Regions from separate parts of the Homo sapiens genome. Here all the other regions are linked to region 1. Evidence: promoter capture Hi-C in human tissues and cell types (Jung and others, 2019). All regions are on one chromosome and are shown on one strand. The core of a region is centred on a gene start or on the middle of the fragment in contact, and the rest is flanking DNA. Distances in the headings are between cores, read along the strand shown.

Evidence for each region. Contacts are between HindIII fragments. The study calls those that stand out against the background at their distance.
Region 2: a contact is called between a fragment that was not itself captured here and the fragment with the promoter of WNK2 in region 1, in 2 of the 25 tissues and cell types used here (dorsolateral prefrontal cortex and spleen).
Region 3: a contact is called between a fragment that was not itself captured here and the fragment with the promoter of WNK2 in region 1, in 2 of the 25 tissues and cell types used here (dorsolateral prefrontal cortex and spleen).

Annotation. Positions count from the first base shown.
Region 1 is chr9:93,182,297-93,185,636 of GRCh38, reverse strand. It overlaps WNK2 (WNK lysine deficient protein kinase 2), which reads right to left and starts at 1,498. Exons shown (of 30, transcript NM_006648.4): 1 at 1,252-1,498; 2 at 27-709. The coding sequence starts at 707. The HindIII fragment of the contact is 13,924 bases long and covers 1-3,340 here.
Region 2 is chr9:93,494,541-93,497,880 of GRCh38, reverse strand. FAM120A (family with sequence similarity 120 member A) reads right to left here. Exons shown (of 18, transcript NM_014612.5): 4 at 282-410. It also overlaps the pseudogene LOC100419516. Among named protein-coding and RNA genes, the nearest start is that of FAM120AOS, 43 kb to the right of the region's middle. The HindIII fragment of the contact is 5,712 bases long and covers 1-3,340 here.
Region 3 is chr9:93,475,409-93,478,748 of GRCh38, reverse strand. It overlaps FAM120A (family with sequence similarity 120 member A), which reads right to left. Exons shown (of 18, transcript NM_014612.5): 3 at 2,411-2,493. Among named protein-coding and RNA genes, the nearest start is that of FAM120AOS, 23 kb to the right of the region's middle. The HindIII fragment of the contact is 3,682 bases long and covers 1-3,340 here.

The sequences.
Region 1 (3,340 bases), core at 249-2,748:
CCCCCTGCGGGCTGGGGCACCCTCACCTGCAGCTCACACCAGGCCACCTCCACCCAGGTCTCCGTGTCCAGCCCCTTGTAGACCGTCTTGAAGGAACCGCGGCCCAGCTCGATGTCGAACTTGAGGAAGCGGCCGTCCAGAGAGGTGGCCACGGCCTTGAGGTCGTCCTCGTCGTCCTCCTCCTCTTCGGGCTCGTCCCGGCGAGTGCGCCCGGGCTCAGGCTTCGCCTCGGCCGCCCCCTCATCCTCCTTCCTCACGGTCGCCGCCGCCTCCTCCCTGGGGCCGCCGTCGGGGGCAGGCGCGGTTTCGACAGCGGCTGCGATGGGGTCCGGGCCGGGCTCCTGCGTGCCCACGGGCTCGGGGCCGGCGTCCGCGGGGGCTCCGGGGGCTCCCGGCTGCGCTACCAGCGCTGCGGGCGCGGGGGCGGCGGGGCGTCCGCGGGCGCGCTCCGCGATGAGGCGGCGCGTCTTGCAGAGCAGAAGCACCCGGCGCTGCAGGGGCTGCGGGGGCTGCGGGCCCGGCGCCTCGGCTGCCTCCAAGCCCGGCGGCTCCTCCTGGTCCGACTCTACCACGCTGCGCCGCAGAAAGCGCTGGGGCCCCGGCCGCGCCGCCTTCGCCCGAGGCTCCGCCATGCCCGCGGGCCCCGCGCCGCGCCCGGGCTCCATCAGCGTGCCGGGGACGTCTCGGCGGCCGCCATCGCCGTCCATCTCTGTGGGCCAAGGACACACAGGCCCGCGTGAGCGCCGGCCCTGCCGCACCTGCCCAGGCCGCCGGATGAGACAACGCCGCCCTAAGCCCGCAACCTGCCCAGCCCCGGCCGCGGAGAGAGCCTGCGGGGGCCGTCTCTGGGGGCCCTGGGAAAGGGGGGCTGCAGACGGGACCAGAGGCTTGGGTTGGGGAGGAGGGGTCCGTGCCCTGCTCAGCCCCAGGCTGCGGAGAGGGACGGGCCTGTGGTGTCCCTGGAACCCTGGGAGAGAGGACCTGCTAGGGTGTCCCTGAGGGCCCCGGAGGCCGGCAGAGGGATCTCGCGCCCTGCCCAGCCCTGGCCCAGGAGGGTTCTGCTAGGCTGTCCCGGAGGCAGCTGTAAAGGGGATAGGGAAGCCCGGGGGTGGGAGGAAGGCAGTGGCCCGGCGGCGGCTCCACAAAGGACGCGGGCCCGGGGCGCGGGAGGGGCGCGCGGGGAGGGGGCTGCAGCGCCGCGGCGCGCACACAAAGGCGGCGAGCGGCGTTGAGGGGAGGCTCGGCACTCACAGGGCGAGCGGACGCCGTCCATGCCCGCGGCCCGGCGGCCAGGGCGTGCGAGGCGGGAGAGATCACGCTTCGAGGACGGGGTCCGAGTTCCGGGCGAGGTCCGCGCTGGGGTGGGGGCCGTGGCGCCGCTCCAGCTCCTGCGCGCTGCTCTCTCGGGCCGGGCCACTGCGGGGCCGCGCTCCCGCGTGCTCCTGCCGGCTTCGCGCGGCTCCGCTCCCGCACCGGCTCCGACCCGGCGCGCGGGGAGGGCGGGGCTCCGTTCGCCCCGCCCCGGACCGGCGCAGGGGGCTGGGCCTGGCACGCCCACCTGGCTGCGGACGGGCTGGCTGACTGGCAGGCGCGCGCGGCCACCTGCGGGCCGGCTACCTGGGCTCCCACCCGCGGTTCTTTGCTCGAGGTAGCGCTCCTGTCCTCTGAAGTTCTTTGGAACGCCCCGCAGGGCTGTCAGCTGCGGAGGACCCCGTTTCTTCCTGAGAGGAGGCAGCAGGCTCAACGCCTCAGCACGCCGCAGCCCGGCGCGCTAGACCTCAAGGCCCTGTGCCAGGACAGAATGGGCAGGCTAGGAAGAAAAGGACCAGGGGTACCGCCGCCCTCGGGAGCCCAGCCTGGGGCTAAGCCTGGTGGGGCTCAGCGTGTCCTTTCCTGCCCTCACTTCACCACCAGGAACCATGAGGACCTCATCATCACCCAGGGAGGCACTGGTGATCATTATGCCCATTTCACAGTCTAGAGCAAACTGAGGCGCCAAAGGCAGAAGTTATATGCTCTAAATCCCAGAACTTTCAAGACCGAAGCTGAGCTGGAATGCCTTGGATGGGATATGGAGAGGCTTCCAGAAGCCCCTTGACCCAAAGTGTTCTTCCTTCCCACCTCTGCCAGATGCCACCTCTCCCGAGAAGTCTTCCATGATCTCTAGCTCCTTCCTCCTCTAGACCCCCACGGACAAGCCCTCTCTTGGGCGTCTCTGGCCCTAATGCAGCAGGTGACCTGTGTCAGTAACCATACTGCTAAGTTCTGAGCCCTGCTCCAGGCAATGCCCTGAGCTAACACTTCACCCTTACCCCAGCCTCCATGATCCTAGGTGAGGAAACTGAGGCACAAGGGAGATACCAGAGTATTCTCATCTCAGTCCCCATCCCACTGGGCTGGCACCCCCATCAGATACACACACACTTCCAGAGATGAAAAGATGCTTGTGGGCCTGTAGGCCTTGGAGCCCCTGGCACAAAATAACTCATGTGGCATAAAAGCCAGCAGAGGCGATATCTCACCTTCACAATGTAGAGGGAAGAATATGCCAGGCCAACTGTTACCCAGAGAAGCAGGACTTCCTGGAGCCCCGCTGGGCACTGGCACTGGCTGAAACTAATTTGTGAGGGGCAACAGTGAACATCCCTTCCCAGCTCTGGGTTCAGCAATGCCACCCTGTAGCCTGAAGTCAGCAATGCTGGGAGTATTTACACTGCGGAAATTGGCAAACACCTCAAATCAGGACTTTTCTCCCCAGAGAGCCAGTGGTTAAATAGTGTGCTAGGTGTAGGGCTATGCATTTGGCACTTGCCTGTTATTTATATAATCTAATCTACCGTGTGAGACAGGCATTCATTCCGGGGCTCAAGTCCGCTGGCATGAGCCCAGAGCTCACACGAGGAGGAGGCCAAACAGCAGACGCCAGCTCTGCAGGACAGAGAGGCCTGAGGGACAGGGATCTAAGTTGCATCTCCTGGGGCAGGAGTCTTCCAGGTAGAGGTCAGGGGTGGAAAAGGATCTTTTCTGTCTTCCCTTTGGAGGCTAAAGACCCCCCAACCTTGCCCCTAACCAGCTGAGTGAACTTGGGCAAGTCCTGGTCCTTCCTGAGCCTCAGTATCTGGCCCTGCAGAGTGGGCTGATCATCCTGACTTGCCCACCTTAAAAGGCTGCCAATTCCTTGTAGATTCAGTCAATCTAGGAAGGGCACCAAGTCCACAGACCTGTTCATGATGGGTGTGTTCAAGCCTATCCAAGGGAAAACCAGGATGGGACAGAGCTAAGCGTGTTCTGAGACCAGCACACACCTATCTGGCCTCCTCCTGCTCCCAACAGGCCACAC
Region 2 (3,340 bases), core at 393-2,892, 310 kb before region 1:
CAGGAGACCTCACCAACCGTCTAACTGAATCTCCCTTTTATTCAGCCTGGAAAAGCTGGGTGAAGTGGCTGAGACTTCCTGGCTGGCAGGGAACATGACCAGGCTACCTCAGCCTCTGGCCTTGCAACCTGCAGCTTTCTTCCAGTGGCCTGAGCAAGAGCTCTCAGACCCATCCAGTCAGCTTGCACCCTCAAGTCCCCTTCTTCCAAACCTGGCCACACCACTATGCAACGTCATATCCCATGAATCTGTTTTTTTGTTTTGTTTGTTTTTTTTTTTACCTGTGAATGCTGGAAAACATCTTTAGCTATGGCATCCAAGTCAGAGGTGTCCTGAATGTTGCGTACATAGTCAGCAACGGCTTTGATCACTACGTCGCAAGGTGGCAAGACCAGCTGGTGGGCCCGGACCTGAGAAAACAAACGTAAGTGTCAACAGTGGATGGTGAGCAACCAGTACCAGGCTAATCTGAATGCAGGAGCCAGAAATTCAACAAGGAGCTACCATCTAAGATCTTATCAGTGCCCAATGATTGTCCACTTGTAAGATCTTGGCCCTAAGACTTTCCTAAGCCGTTCACGTTCTGAAGCTCAAGAACTGGATTTTCCTTTCAGTGGATGAAATACAACTCAGCTGCTTAAACTGTGTTGGGTGAAAAGAGCATCTGACAGTCTTCCACCACTTCTGAGAAGTCCAAGACTTGTTTGCGATTAATTCCAAGGCCAGGACCTGCACCCATAACAAGCGAAGCACAAAGCAGCCCAGAGAGAAGGCCTGGAGCCACCATTCGCTCCCTTTCTTTCAACACCAACCAACAAAGATGAAGGCCTGCACAAGTAGAATCTTTAGATTAGAGCCCAGGACTCCCTGAAACTGTAAGCAGAAATGCAGTTACCAAGTCCTTGAATCCACCTTCAAAGGCCAACTTCAGCTCTAACTGGAGAAAAATGGTATCACTGCCTGTTGAGGGGCATGTTTGAGGAAAGTGACAAAGAATATCAAATAAAGAGTAGGAACATCTCATTAGCCAAAAACAGCTGACACTAGAAAAACGTAAGTTAACAGGTTGAAAAAGAAGACCAGCCACCTAATAAGAGCTTTGCGGTAGGCAGGACAATGACCTCCCAAAGCTGTCCACATCCTCCTCTCCAGAACCTGCGAATATGCTGCATTGCGTGGCAAAATTCAATGAAGGCTGCCTGTCAGCTGACCTCCAAATAAGAATCCTGTCCTGGATTACCCAGACAAGCCCAAGGGAATCACAGGGTCCTCAAAATGTGGAGAAAGGAGGCAGTGATGCAGCATGACAGGGCCTCAGATGCTCGAGGCTGGACGGGCTGGGATCCTCCCGAGAGCCTGCAGAGGGACCAGCCCTTGCATGTTAACATACAAGGAAAGGAATGTTGTCTTCATGCCTGTTGACACAACATTCATTCCACAACCCATAATGGATAAAGGAGTAATTTTGACACTCAAGTCTTATTATTAAAGAAATACATTTCATCAGGCTAGAACTGCCATAGAAAATGACTCCTCTGATGCATCTGGGCTAAGCACATTGAAAACCTTCTGGACAGAATTCACTACTCTAGTAAGTGAATGCCATTAAGACCATTCATGATTCATGGGAGGATGTCAAAATATCAACCTTAACAGGAGCTTGGAAGACTTGGTTGATTCCAACCCTCGTGAATGGCTTTGAGGGGGTTTAAGACTTAAGTGGAGGAAGTCACTGCAGATGTGGTGGAAATAGCAAGAGAATCAGAATTAGAAGTGGAGCCTGAAGATGTAACCAAATTGCTGAAATCTCATGATAAATCCTGAATAAATGAAGAAGTACTTGTTATGGACAAGCAAAGAAAGCACCTTTTTGAGATGGAATCTACTTCTGGTGAAGATGCTATCAAAGATATCAAAATAAAAGCAAAGGATTTAGAATAGGACATAAGCTTAGTTGATAAAGCAGTGGCAGGGTTTGAGATTAACTCCAATTTCATAAAACATTTCTACTGTGGGTAAACTGCTATCAAATAACATTGCAGGCTATAGAGAAATCTTTCATGAAAGGAAGAGTCAATTGATGTGACAAACTTGAATGTTGTCCAATTTCCTGAAACGGCCACAGCCACCCCAACCTCCAGCAACCACCACCCTTATCAGTCAGCAGCCATCAGCAAGACCCTCCACCAGCAAAATGATTCCAACTCGCTGTAGACTCAAGCGATCATAGCATTTGAAAGTATTTTTGATTAAGGGATGTATCTTGTGTTTCAGACATAATGCCATTACACTCTTAATAGACTACAGTACTGTGTAAACATTTCTATTACATGTACTGGAAAACCTAAAATTGACATGACTTCTCTATCATTCCCCTCCAGGCCCCTGCTCTCAAAGCCTCCATGTATGTCACAAGGTGGCTGCAGAACAGCAGAGTCCCCTTTGGTAAGTGCCTCTGCCTTTCCAAGTCTGTGCATGAGGAATGCACAAAACAGGGACATGTTCCAGTGAGTTATAACGGTGTATTAGGTTACTGTTATTTTGTTGTTGTTGAGGATCATGGTGGTATATTAGCTAACATATCTTAGCTAGACACTCTTTTAAGTGTTTTATGTATAGTACTGTATTAATTCTCACACATCTAATATGGCAGCCCTTGTTTGTGTTAGAGATGGTACCCTCCACAGGGTTCTAAGTGGTCAGTTGTGGCCCACAGGCCACTGGCAAGTGGCGGCAAACCCTTGGCAGCCACGGAGGGCCTGCTGCCCACCACACAATGCCTACTCAGCTGCTGCTGGCCCCCCTGTAGGCAGCAGTACTACTGATGTACAGAATCATGGGACTAGTGGCAGTGAAACTATGGAAACCCTGGGTGATCTGGGCATGCACTGCTGTGGTGGCCTTCACGTTCATGACGCACAGTGGGAAGAAAAGAGGAGTCGGCCCAAAGGTATTCAGCCCAGGGTGAGGTCCATAGAATGGCCAGATCCAAGATGTGGCTAGCACCCCAAGCCTGTGGTGGCCTAATGTCACCCGTGCCAGAGGCCAGTCCTCGATCACTCCAAACCCCCTGCTTGAGGGTTCCAAATGAAACAAGCAGGTCTTCCTACCAGGACCTAGGTGAGCTTCTGAAAGAGCACAGAAAAGCAGGCCTCCTGAATTTCCCCAAGTGACTGAACAAAGCAGGTCCCACATGCTTCACAGCATGATGGGGAAGATCTTCTGGGGCAAAGCAAAGATGATCTGAATGACAGCACTGACCACTGGCAACCTGCAGAGCTGCCCGACCAAGAAATTGTGAGATGGAAGCAATGCCTGCAGATAAGAAGGGGAAGATGAA
Region 3 (3,340 bases), core at 432-2,931, 290 kb before region 1:
ATCCCAGCACTTTGGGAGGCCAAGGTGGGTGGATCACCTGAGGTCAGGTGTTCGAGACGAATATGGACAACATGGTGAAACCCTGCCTCTACTAAAAACACAAAAATTAGCTGGCGTGGTGGCAGGCGCCTGTAATCCCAGCTACTTGGAAGGCTGAGGCAGGAGAATCACTTGAACCCTGGAGGCAGAGGTTGCAGTGAGCCGAGATCTCACCCCTGTACTCCATCCTGGGTGACAGAGCAAGACTCTGTCTCAAATAAAAACATTAAAGTGGCTAACAAATGCAATTTCTGAACTTATCTCAAAACCAGGTGCACTTGCATTTCATGTGTGACTTTAAAATCCTACAACGTATCAAGTCATCTGAAAAATAATTTAGGATTTCTTCTCCAATATGCCATAAAAGTACTCAGCTAATATCAAAATGCATGCATAAAGCTTGACTGGATCTCGATCAAAAAAAAAAAAACCTATAAATGACTCTGAAAAAATTTGAATATGGGCTTAATATTAAATGATATTAGACACTGCACTCCAGCACAGGTGACAGAGCAAGACCCTGTCTCAAAAAAAAAGATATTAAAGAATTATTAATTTAGTTGATGTCATAGGAGTAATATGATAAAGTATCAAAATGTCCTTATTTTTAGGAAGTGATGGAGCAAGCTGAAGTGGTGGAGCAAGCTGACATTTTCATGGGTAAAGTGTCATATCTGCAACTTACTTCCAAATAGTTTTTGTTAAACAAAACAAAACACAGACATATACTTTATGGCAAAATGTTTATAATTGTTGAACCAAGATGGGGGATATACGGATACACATTTCTCTATTCTTTCCACATTTCAATACTTAAAGATTTTCTCAACAAAATTTAGGAAAAACACACATATAATGATGTTATTCACTTGGCAATAGATTGAGCTGGTTTTCCAATAATTCTTCAAACAGCTCTTCACTTCTAACCCTGTGACATATGAAGCAGGGCTAGTTTAACTTAGACATACACATATAGCCAGAAACCTTGGGAGTATCTCACTCCTGCTCTTCAAAACAAAATAAATCTTGTAGGAAACAAGCTTTCATTTGTGTCTCACTTACAAAAGCATAATGCTTAACAGAGCTACTGAGCACAGGTGCAGTGCTCTTAAGTCCAGCTGATTACACGCTGCATTTCCCCAATCCACATTTCAATCATGGCATCACCAGAAGCTTAGAGTCCGAATGACAGATCACATCACTTCATTCATGAAAACATACAGGAGGGATTCTATGGCCAGAAATGTAATTTCTAACAAGAGAAGAAAAACTAATTTTTGAACAAGAAGTTGAAAACAGTCCATACCAAACCCCATTAGGGTGAAAAGGAGAACATTTTATAGCATGCCAGAGATGAAAAAGAAAAAGCATGCCAGAGATGAAACAGCAGGGAACAAAATGAAAGGAGGAAAGGAATTCTACTTCAGCTTTTGGGTATCACCAGAGTTAAAGGTAAATTAAAATGTAGGAAGAAAAACTCCCATTTGAAACTAGCCACCAATTAAAATTGTTTATGGAGGGAGGGTAATTACGACAACATTCAAAATTTTACAGCCCTTCGGAAAACACCCAATTTAACCGCCACTCTTTACTGTAAGGAAGCAGTCCCAGGGTGGGAAGCAGATACAAAGTCTAGGTCCCCATCTTCCTAATTCCCCAAGTCAAGAAAGGCACTTGAACTGACAAATGATCATTACAATCACAGGAGTCACTAACAAGTCCAAGCTGAAGTTTTCCAGTGCCTCGTGCATATCTCACTCATTACTCCTATGCTCACATCAAACACAGACACTTCCACTGCAGAAAATCAGAATTAAGTGCCTCATCTCTGATGTTTATTACTATCACAAACAGGAAGGGAATCAAAAGGGAGAAAAAGAATATTAAGTTTTAATAAAATAGTACAAATGGATCACTTCCATTTGAGTCTCCCTCATCATCCAAAAAGCTTTATAAACTATTTTATAATTGTAGAAAATTAGTTATGAAATTTATCAACTATGCAAAGATGTTGCTCTAAGTGACAAGTAACTATACTACCTAAAGACAAAATTAAAATTTTTAAGTAAGAAAATTAATATATAAAACATCAGCTCAAAGATTTCCTTCTATCTAGGTACACAGCACAAAGAATTCCTTAAGGGAAATTTTCAAGGACATTTATACATTTACCTAACATATAGGTGTTGAGAACAAGGGATGGTAGCATTGTTGCTTGCTTTTTAAGGCAGTGCAGATCCTGAAATTATGGGAAAACATGGTATTGCTAACTTTGTAGCATCACCAATAAAGGGCCTAACATGTTATTAAAGTAATAGCAAACTCACAGTTGATTATTACAAATGCTAGAAAAATAAAGTGAAATTTGTACCTTTAGTGAGGCTAGTGGATGTTCTGGACCAAGTAAACTCCAGTGAAAGGAAGCCAGATCTTCATCAGGCAGAATGTGATTTCCTGGAATATAAACATGGATAACATAAAAGCAATCATCTTAAGTAACATAGGGAAACTTTCAAAAGTGCTGCATATTGTCACCTATAGTAGAAAACTTTCAAACAGAAACTGAGAACAAATCTTCATCTCTTAACATAAAGCGACATACAGCAGGCAGAATCTTTGCAGCTGCTTCAAGAATGACGGGAATTTCTAGTGCAGTCCCAACAGCATTCAACCTAAGAACTGCATAAAACTGAAACAACTTCACAGCACAGTATTAAAAATAAACACCAGTTTGCAAAAGGTCAGTCTGACAATGTCAGGATATCAAATACCAATTAGATTCAAGTTTTCATTTGTTCATGAAATGACTATGGTTCAAGCTTTCATCTGTTCATGAAATAGCTACGGTTCAAAATTACATAAAAACACCAAATGTGAAATCTGCACAATTATAAAACCTTTCTTAGCAAGATTAAATGACAATGACTGCTGATTGTAACATGAATCAACACCCTTCTCCCATAATTTCCATCACCACCCACAAACATATGTGAAAAGGCCCATCCTACAGTAATACTCATGAGGCCATTAAGCTGCTCATCCTATCACCAGTGCTGTCACAGTCTACAAACAAAACTGTATTCAATTGAGAAACTATATTTGGGGGTAATACTCTACTTTCATAATAATGTTCGTATGCCTGGTATACCTGATCTTTAGTAGGTTAGCTATCTCATTGAAATCTCAAAGCAGTAATTTCCTAAATAACCATGATTTTTATAACATTACTTAATCACCTCCACATTATGATAGCAAATTCATTAATTTGCTACTAACAGAATGCAACACAAACTAAGACCAT